Regions from separate parts of the Homo sapiens genome. Here region 2 is linked to region 1. The links are contacts of gene promoters, found by promoter capture Hi-C in human tissues and cell types (Jung and others, 2019). All regions are on one chromosome and are shown on one strand. Each heading gives the region's core, a stretch centred on a gene start or on the middle of the fragment in contact. The rest is flanking DNA. Distances are from core to core; before and after follow the strand shown.

Region 1 (5,197 bases), core at 1,311-3,810:
CTGACCGGGACGGAGGAGTAGGCCTGGAGTGGAGACAGCGAGTGAAGAAGCCCCGGAGGGCGGGGTTAGTGGTGGGCACTGGAGGGCGGCCGTCCGGGACCTAACCCGGGGGCAAGTGCAGAGCACTTTGCAGAACACGGGACGCCCCCACCCGGGGCAAATGGCTAAGCGCCCTCCCCAGACCGAGCAAAGATGTCTTGCACGGCAGGGGGAAAATCCTAGCGCGGCAGGCATGAAAGATAAACGCTCACAGAAAATATGACCCCAGGAAGATGTGTAATCGCCTTACACGCCAGGCTCAGGGGCTGGCTTCCAGGGCCCCCTCATCGCCTCCTCCATCCACGCCAGGCGGTATCCCAAGTCTCCACCCCAACCAGCCTCGGCAAAGCGCCCTTTGGGGGGAAATCGTTGATAGAGCAAATCACCTATGGACATGGGACCCCCTGAATCATCTGTTTCCCAACAAGTGGCTTTATTGTCCTAGGGGTTTTTGCCTATGGTGACTTTTTGTTGTTTATTGTATTTAGAAGTAGTGTTTTCTACCTGCTTGTAGCAACTGTAATGTTAAAAGGGAAGCAAACTCAGAGTTAAATAAGTTTTGGAAAAATAAAACTAAAAGTAGATCCATAACAGAAAGGGCTGGGAGGGGGTGCTATAATAATCTCAAAGTGCTATATGCATTTTATTTTAACATGACTTTACATGTACACCTTTGCAAGCTATTTAGAAACTCGCATTAATTTTGTCACCACTTTACAGTCCCCTGTTTGAAAAATTTGGTGACACAGTTTGTCAAAATAAATCTTTTTTTTTTTTCACATGCTGATGTTGCTGCCGATGATTTCAACGCCTGGCTTTGAGATTCCGTGAGTAGTCTTGAATAATTTAAAATTCGAAAATCAAATTCTACTTATTTTCTCTTAATGCTATTGTATTTCCTAATTCTCAGCTTTAACATGTAAGAAAGTACTTTCGCTAGGGGTCTTAATTGAATGGTGGGGTCGAGATGACTGCGTCAGAATTAAATCTCTGGAAGACCTCTGAGCTCCTTTTAAAATCATCAACAAGCGAAAATCCTTATCAATAGCGATGTGGGAATGCATTAGGTACAGTATTTTAAACATACAAAACCTAGGCATATTAAAAAGCACTCCTCTGGTAATTTAATAAGGAATAATGATGTCCTTAAGTTTATTTTAATCAGCAAGTATGACTCAATTTGAAAATATGAGAACAAATAGATTTAAATAGGAACACCCAGTAAACTATGGTATGCAAATAAACTCAGAGGTAAACTTGTGAATACATAAATCTAAATAAGTCAGTTACCATCAAAATATTACGTGATCCTATATTTTTCTGTCCACGTCTTAAAAGTATTTTTTACCTTGGGGCTTTATTTTCTTTCCCTCTTCCCAAGATTATCCAAGGCAGTTCCAATACGCGTTTTCAATAATGGTAATTAAACTTTTGGAGGGTAATCGCCAGCTGTTTCCAGAAAAATACTTTTAATAGGTGGTAGTCCTCCCTGTAACTGGTTTTCCCTGTAATCCTTTTGTGCACATTGTAAAAATAACCCCCATGAACGTGCCACCAAGGGGACAATGAAGAGAAACAGGTTCTCGGCCCAGAGTTGTGAAGAAGATTTTGGTCGCACTAGCGCCACCCAGCGGTTTTAGAGAAGGAGCACACTTCTCCCCAAATAGGGCTTTTGAAGAACAAGTTTTACAAAATTTAGAAATCGTTTCATTATTGAGACACCCAACTTGGCGGCAGAGCGCTTTAATCAGAAGACGTCTGCGAATTAAACGGTGGGACGAAGAGGTCGCCTTGTGGGTATGCTCCGGCTTTCTCAGAGTTGCTTCCAACTCGCACCGGCGCTCGCCCGCCCGCTGCACCCCGGGCCCGGCTCCTGCTCCCGCTCGCTGCTGGGAAGAGGCAAGCGCTTCCTAGAGCCGCTGTTTTCAAAGCCCGGAGTTTCCTAAAACTCCCTCTCCGGCTGCGAGAGTCGGGACAGAGCAGGGCAGCAGGTCCCGCTTCCAGGCCCGGCCAAGGCCCGGCCGGGGCCACACCGGCGGGCGGGCAGCGGTGGCACCGAGAAGGCGCCCCCGGCCCGCCTGCCTGCCTTGCCTGGCGCCCACCGCTCCCCGGCCTCCCCCGGCACGGGCTCCAGCGGCGCCCCACCGGCCGCCCGCCTCGCCTTGCCTCTCACCTCCTGCGTGTCTGCGTAGTAGCTGTTCCAGTCGCTGGTTTCATGCCCTTCCATCTTCACAGTTCCTAACATCCTGGAGCCACCCTGCCCAATACAACCATCCAGCCCTGTGCGAAGCGACGGGCGGCCGCGCGGCGCGGGGCGGGGGAGGGGAGCTGAGCAGCTGCAGTCACCCGAGCGCCCGCGCGGGCCCAACGCCACCCGGGCGAAGAGGAAGCCCAGAGCTGCGGGGCGCGGCGTGCGCGGCGGCGGCGGCGGCGCGGCGGGCGGGGGCAGCGCCGGGGGCAGGCGGCTGCCGCGGAGCGCGGCGCCGGGGAGCGCCTCCGCGGGAAGTGAGCGGGCTGCCTCTGCGAGGCAAGTGCAGTTGAGCTGATGTGGATCTTACGTCGCTTGAGTGCCCACCTCCTCGTCCTCTCCCCATTTGTCCGCCGCACAAAGACGCTCGCACCTACAAAGCCCGAGGTGCACCTGCAAGGCGGCCGCCCGCCAGTCCGGCCGCCGCGCCTCCCGCCCCGCCGCTTCACCGCTGCGCGCGACCCCTCCCCCGCGACCCCTCCCCCAAGCGGGGCCCTCACTTTGTTTGCAAAGCAGTGTAATTGGTTTAGGCCCGGAGGCTAGGGAAAGAGGGAAATGGGGAGGGAGGGGGTGTAACCCCCTTTGGAAAAAGAAAAAATAGGCGGGGCCAGGCGGGCGGGCGGGCTAGGGCTCTGGATCGGAACCTCGCAGCCGGAGAAGGCCGGGGGCGGTGGCGTCGGAGACTGGGCTTAGAGACCTTGTGGGATAACTGACCCCGGGGTCCCTCCCCAGAGGTACACGCCACCTTCCGAGCGCGGGCTGCGGCCCAGTCTCGCGCCCCTCCTGCTCTTTGCTTCCTCCCTCCTGATTCCTGACCCAAAGTTCAACCCCGGGAGACTGGAGAATACAGACTTTTTTTTTTCTTTCCTCCTGAGAGCTTCAGACTAGAAAAGGGAAAAAGCCCCACTTTTGCTTCGTCACTAGAAACCGGGTCATCTGAGTCAGCCGAGCCAAGTGACGTTAGGCCGACCCGGGCCCCGGGCTAGCAGAGCGGAGGCGCTGCCACGAAACTCGTACCTGCGGCTAAGAGCAGGTGAGTCACAGCACCGGTTTATATCTTTATGACATAACTTTTTTTTTTTGTTCCGCCTCGGTCCGCTCCTCTCCCCTTGTCATCTGTAGCGACCACAAAGAGGAAGAAACTGAGAGCAGATGTCTGTGTGATAGGGCAGGCGGACCCAAGTCGGGCCGTCCTCCCCCTGCCGGGCTCCTCCTCCCGCCCCCCTTCAGCCGCTTCAGGGAGTGAGCTGGAGACGACCGTCTGGTTTCTGATAGGAAAAGGTCAGGGGGAGGGGACATCTCCCATAACACGCGCGTTAGCTGGGAGAGCAAGGGCCTGGGCGCGGGAACGCATCTGCACTGCGAAAGAGATGCCAGGCAGAAGCCCGAGACTGCCCGCAGCGGCGCTTGGTCCTGTCTGTGACCCGGAGGGTCCGGGCTGAGATCTCAGGGGCTCGCTTGGTTCCTAATCGGTCCTGGACGTCGGTGGGAGAGTCTTCCCAACGCAAAGTCTCTTTACTCTCATGAGGCCCTGGGTGGTGGTTGCCCACTTGTCCTGGGAGAGAGAACAACTGAAGTGACCGGGTGATAGGCAATTAGTTGGTGATAGATTGGGAGATGGTGCGTGTGTTTTGAGTGTGTGACCGTTTGTATATTTCTGAGCATGTGTGACTGTGTGTGTTTCTGAGTGTCTGTGACCATGTGTTTGTTGTACTGCCTGTAGAACCACTAGGTTTCCTTAAGTAACAATAAAATAAAATCTAAAGTAATTAAGAATCCGCAAAATCTTCTTGTTTTGCAAAGTTTTTAAAATGTTATTAATCTCATTTTAAGAAATGTGTTTTAACTTGTCTTCCAAACAGATACCTTTTTCCCTGTGCTTTGTTCTTTTAAATCTCTTTTACTTGAAATCTGGCAAGAGAATCACTTTAAATCCCTGAACCAAACAAATCTCTTAAGTCAGCAGGGGAGCAGAGAGGGTGAAGATGTGCAGTTAAGGAAATAAAAAAAGATAAAAGCATTGGATTACATTTTTTTTTTTTTTTTTTACAAAAAGGGTGGGGGGGTAGAAACGTCACATCATAAGGAAAGGAATGAGTGAAATTAAATCCACCTGGAACTCAGTAGGGCAGGAACCCTCCCTAATGCAGCCTGCTCCTGTGACTGCAAGTTGTCCCATCAGTTTGTGTAAATGTATCTGCGAATTGTGTGTCAGAAACTAATTCTTTTGTGCAAAGTTCCCATTAGTAGCTGACTTTAGTTCCATTTGTAAAGTATACGGATGCTTAGCTTCCTGGGCCTGATCCGGGGGACTTTCAGTGCTAATGAGCTTCCTTGTTCCTTCTGGAGGTGATTCTCCAATACCCTCTTGGCTCTTCAATAACACCGAGCAAGACTAGGTTATTTTCTACCGAGAGTAACAATTTATGGATAGTAATAGCTTTTATAGTGCACAAAAAAGTTGGCGCTTTAAGTAGGGGAAAAACACTGTCACCTTAAAGGGGGGGTCAATTACAATATCAAATGTTCTTTTAGCCCACTTCCCAAACCTACTAAGTCTCATATTTTCAAAAAAAAAAAATTGACTTAAGAAAAAAAAATCCACTTTTCATAGCGTGATGGCCGAAGCGGAATTTCTCCTAGGCTTCTTCAAAGCCCAAGACCGGTGATGCAGAATGGACTCTGCCAGCTTCGGAGACTTGATCCAGGTCAGGGATCCCAGGTTCGCAGCCGGGGGATTTCCACGAAAACAGCGCCTCCTGTCGTGGAGAGGGAAAGCTGAATTTTCCCGCAGGCGCCTCCGGGGAGCACCGCCAGGCGATACTGGATTGAACTCCGCACGCATCCCAGTCAGGGATTTAGGTTCTTAGAGCCGAGGCCAAGATGGAAGGAGAGATGGCCGTTCGTCCA
Region 2 (5,197 bases), core at 1,580-4,079, 950 kb before region 1:
AAGGGTCCTTATGAATCATTTGTTATAAGCCTCAAGTCTTACAGATGATCCAGGGAGGTAAAATGGCCTCCCAAAGTAACTAGTGACAAAATCTAGACCTGAATTCAGCTTTCCTAAATCCTAAGTCCAGAATACTTACAATGAGCCGCACACACTAACAATCGCTTATAGATGAAATATCTTACATTGTGCTTAATTTAGTCCTCTTCTGAGTAAAGGAAAGCAAAATAAAACAAAAATGAACAAAATCCCAAGAACACGTACCTTCCACCCCACCTTCTTACACAAACCAACCAACCTTTCCCTTGAGGACAACCATAAGGCTCTGCCACAATAATCTGTACCAATAAAAACTTAAACATGCCAACATCCTTAGAATAAAGTATAGAGGTCTTTGATTTTAGCCTGACAGAATTAATGATATCTTCCTACATTCTCTCACATAAGCACTTAGCATATTAATAGTTTGTATCTTTAATATAATAATTTCATTCTTTATCATCCTAAAGTTTTGCATTCCTCATTGCATTATTTGTAATTAGTTTTTGCATGGCTATTCCTTCCCATGTGTTGTAAGCCCTTGGATATTAAATTTATCTCTTTGCTCTTTTACCCCCTGCACAGAAGAGAAAGAACATATGACTTTAGATCAACGAGTAAATTGGCACAGTCACATTTTTTGAATGGCTCTTTCTTCCCTTTCAAGGGGATAATCTATCATGTTCACCAAGGAATTATGTTACTCAGAACTCCAGATTAGAACCTTTCATTTGCCACTAAATATTCCTAAAATGGATAAGATCTAGTAGAGATTTTGCAATTCCTGGCTTAGAACTGCAGTCAGAAGTGCCTGGCATAAGGCAAGCCCTATATAATTGCTAGCTATTCTTATTATTAACAAGATGTAGGTACTATTTTTAGGATTTGGAAGATAAACTGGAAAGCAGTCTGGCTGTCTTATAGCCTTTCTAACTCTATAATAATGACCCAGACAGAATCAGATACAAAATGTGATTAACCTAGATATTATTTGATCATGTTCAACACTTTCTGGACTAAGTATTACAGAATGTTGTTTCTCAAGGCAGCTGGATCACCAAGAAATCTAAGTAATTGAAACCAATTGAAGTAAAAGATGAACTCTCCTAGGCAAAAATACCTTTTCACAATAAATTCTTAAATAAAAGTAGTGCTGGATAAAAAAATAAGTTGCATTCCTTTGGTTTCCATCCCTCCATGATGCTAGCATCAGATAAGAGAAATAAATCATGTAACTGTACCTGGCTATGAAGTTGCTCTGGATTATGAGTCCACCACACAACACCTATGTAACTTCAAGCAAGTTACTTAACATTCCTACATCAGTTTCTTCATTAATAGAATAAGGATCATAATAGCCTCTCATAGATTATCATGAGGATGAAATAAGGTAAGAGATGTTCTTAGCACAATGCCTTGCACAGAGGATATAATAATAATTATTACTATAAGCCTTCTTATTGAGATATTTACATGCAACATTTAAGCAATTGTTCAGATAACTAATTCTATGCATGGAGGGGTAGGGAAGGAGAGGACAATAACTTATTTCCTCCTCAGCAAAGTAGCAATAATGATGCCTTTCCTTTCTCTTCCTTGAGTCTAATGTTAATCCACAAGTATTTTGAGATGTTCAGTAAAAAGAGAATGCTATTGCTGTAGGCAACAGGCAATGAGGGGACTGATGTGTGGCTTCTTGATTATGGAAAAATTAAGTATTCTAAAGGCCAGAGTTTGGCATCCTTTGGCACCTGAGTGACATTCCTCATCATCTCTCATTTGTCTTCATGAGCTCTAAGAACTAGCAAGCCTCCAATATCTGCAGACCAACGTATATTATTTAAGGAAGATGCTACTTGCTAAAACTCTGGATACAGATCAGTAGACAAAAAACAGCAAAGTGTAATAGATGACTTAAAAAAATTAGGAGTTTGGGGTCTGATAAGAGCTGGAAGTCATTCCACATAAGCTTAATTTTGTACTGCGGTTTGGTCAGGGCATATGGCCATCATATCTGGGGTAAAACAGGCCAGCGCTTCAGGGACTGAGCCCTTCAGAACCCTAGGGCTACTCAGAGGTTCCACAGTTCCACAACTAGGGTTCATTGCTATCTTCTTTATACAACATGCGGGTGGTCCCTTTGAAAAAGTTCAAAACCCACTGAACTAGCAAAGAGCATAGCCAAACCCCAACAACATTTTGGGGTACCTAAATGACCTAGGTACTCTAGGGACCACAACTTAACAGATCTAAATTGCAGCTAAAATTAAATAAGATCTGATCTAGCCCCTCCTCACATTCCTCCCATGCTTAAGAACCTATGTATAGTGTGTCCTCCAGTTCTCATGGAACTGACATGCCACCTAAGGGCCATTAAAGCCCATGTACCTCTTTAGTTAGCATCATTTCTGGAAGAAAAGGTTTAAGGGTAATAAAAGCTTCTTGCTGAACAGGTGAGCAAAGGTTGAAATTAAACATCTAAACAGTGTATCTTTATTTACACCAATGATCCTAATTAATAGCCAAATTAGTTGGGTTCATTTGTCATCCAACTCTACACTTTTGCCCTTGAGTCTCAGTTCTCTCCTTTGAAACCACATGGAATAATTTATTGATTCATTCCTACATCAAAATTTCATTGACTTCCACCAGGTACGGTGGCTCACACCTGTAATCCCAGCACTTTGGGAGGCTGAGTTGGGCGGATCACCTGAGGTCACAAGTTCGAGACCAGCCTGGCCAACATGGTGAAACCCTGTCTCTACTGAAAATACAAAAAATAGCCAGGTGTAGTGGCAGTCACCTATAATCCCAGCTACTCCGGAGGCTGAGGCAGGAGAATCCCTTGAACCCAGGAGGCAGAGGTTGCAGTGAGCCAAGATTGTGCCACTACACTCCAGCATGGGTGTCAGAGTGAGACTCCATCTCAAGAAAAAAAAAAATTCATTGACTTTCATCTGGTGAGGTTGCTCATGTCTGTAATCCCAGCACTTTGGGTGGCTGAGGTGGGAGGATCACTTGAGGCCAGGAGTTTAAGACCAGCCTGGCCAACATGGTGAAACCCCTGGCCAACATGGTGAAACCCCGTCTCTATTAAAAATACAAAAACTAGCCGGATATGGTGGTGCACACTTGTAATCCCAGCTATTCAGTTGGCTGAGGCACGAGAATTGCTTGAACCTGGGAAGTGGAGGTTGCAGTGAGCCGAGATTGTGCCACTGTACTCCAGCCTGGGCAACAGGACTCTCTCAAAAAAAAAAAAAAAAATTAACTTCTATGTGCAAGACACAGGAGTTTCAGAGTGAATCAGACCTGTTGGTTCCTGCATTCATGGAGCTTAGAATCCAGCAGGAAAGGACAGTCAAACTCATAGAGGATGACTTTGCTCCATTAGGCTCTGTATTATAAACCGAGAAAAGCTTTGCTGAGCTCCTCTGACAGAGTAAGTTCAACATCTTTTCTACCTGGGAGCCCTTCAAATATTTGAGGACAGCTATGCCATACTTTCTAAGCCTTCCAGTCTCTATCAAAAATTCTAGTTCCATAAGCCATAGAGTATGACTTTGGTTAGAATCCTTTACCATGTGTGGCTTCCCTTTGCACGTACATACCATCAACCTATCAATGTTTGGGGAGACCAGAAACAAGACTCGCTCCCACCCCGGTAAAGAAAATAACCCTTATGCTGAATACTCCACTTCTATTTGCACAAACTAAGAACATTAACATTCTAGGCTCATGCTGAGTTTACAATCAACTGTAGGCCCTGAGATTACCTAAACTGCCATCCCTGACGGTATCTTCATACACTGGTTCAATTATTTTGTATCTGAGTGTAGAATTCTATATTTACTCATATATTGATTAGTGTTATTTATAGTCAATTATTCTGCCTATTAAGCTGTTTTTGTATGATTGCGTCCTTTTTCTAATTTCTTTTTTCTTTTTCTTTTCTTTTTTTTTTTTTTTTTTTTTTTTTTTTTGAGACACGGTCTTACTCTGTTGCCCAGGCTGGAGTGCAGTGGCACCATCATGGCTCACCACAGCCTCGACCTCCTGGGCCCAATCCTCCTACCTCAGCCTTCCGAGTAGCTGGGACCACAAGTATGCACCATCATGCCTGGCTAATTAAAAAAAAAAAAAAAATCTGTAGAGAAAGAGTCTCTCTATGTTGGCCAGGCTGGTCTCAAACTCCTGGGGTCAAGTAATCCTCCTGCCTTGGCCTCCCAAAGTTCTGGGATTACAGATGTGAGCCACCATACCCAGCCTTCAAATTTCTTATCCTTTCTAATGTCATGTTTTCTACATATGAGAGCATTCCAACAAGCTCTCATCAGCCTAAGACCACCCTTTGGTGCTCTCTTGTATTCCATAGCATTTTGTATCTAACTCCATTACATTATATTATTGCCTTACTGTGATTATATTTTTACGTGTCTCTTCTCTCACTTATCTGTGAGCTCGTTAAGCACAATAGCTTATCTACCTTTGTATCTCCACTATTAAGCTCAGTTCCTGACACATAGGCTATGCTTAAAAGAAAAGCTGTTTATTTCAAAGAATGAATGAATGGGCCACTCAACCATTATGTCACCCAGGCCACATCGGTCCCAAGGTTACCATAAAATAGTTTATCAAATGCCTTATTGAAACACAAGTCTGTAGCTCTCCCAACTCTGCTACCTTCCACTTTAGATAAAAGTCACTTTATTTCTCTGTGTCTCCAATTCCCCATATGCAGACAGTGAAAGTTTATCAAGATTAATAAATGAAATAATATATGTAAACATGCTTTGCAAAACTGCAACATGTGCAAAAGTAAGATATAAGCATCCCCTCATTCTAGCAGCCTTATCAAAAAAGAAAATTATGTTTATTGGCCTGGCAAGAGCTGTGATTTGTGGCTTTCATTTAAGGGCAGGAAGCAAGCCCTCTGAAAAGAGTGACAGGGAAAGGTTAAAGGGATAAAGCCTGGAGCCAAATCCACCACAACCCCCTCCCCAGGCTCTACCGCACTTCCCACTCCTCTCCTCCGGCCCCCCACCCCATATGAAAGTTGATGCCTGTTATCCAGGACCTTTCCTTTTGGCTGGCCTTTGGGGTTTTCCAAATTCTGTGTTGAAGGGTCCAGAGAGGGTCTCCTGCCAATCCTTGTTTG

Evidence for each region. The method cuts DNA at HindIII sites, captures the fragments that hold promoters and counts their contacts. A contact is called where the count stands out against the background at its distance.
Region 2: a contact is called between a fragment that was not itself captured here and the fragment with the promoter of FOXA1 in region 1, in 1 of the 25 tissues and cell types used here (dorsolateral prefrontal cortex).

The regions. Positions count from the first base shown.
Region 1 is chr14:37,592,689-37,597,885 of GRCh38, forward strand. It overlaps FOXA1 (forkhead box A1), which reads right to left and starts at 2,561. Exons shown (of 2, transcript NM_004496.5): 1 at 2,213-2,561; 2 at 1-23. The coding sequence starts at 2,284. It overlaps TTC6 (tetratricopeptide repeat domain 6), which reads left to right and starts at 2,941. Exons shown (of 33, transcript NM_001310135.5): 1 at 2,941-3,320. RefSeq lists enhancers at 2,497-3,356, 2,870-4,069. The HindIII fragment of the contact is 7,361 bases long and covers 1,216-5,197 here.
Region 2 is chr14:36,640,331-36,645,527 of GRCh38, forward strand. No RefSeq gene overlaps it. Among named protein-coding and RNA genes, the nearest start is that of PAX9, 19 kb to the right of the region's middle. The HindIII fragment of the contact is 3,703 bases long and covers 979-4,681 here.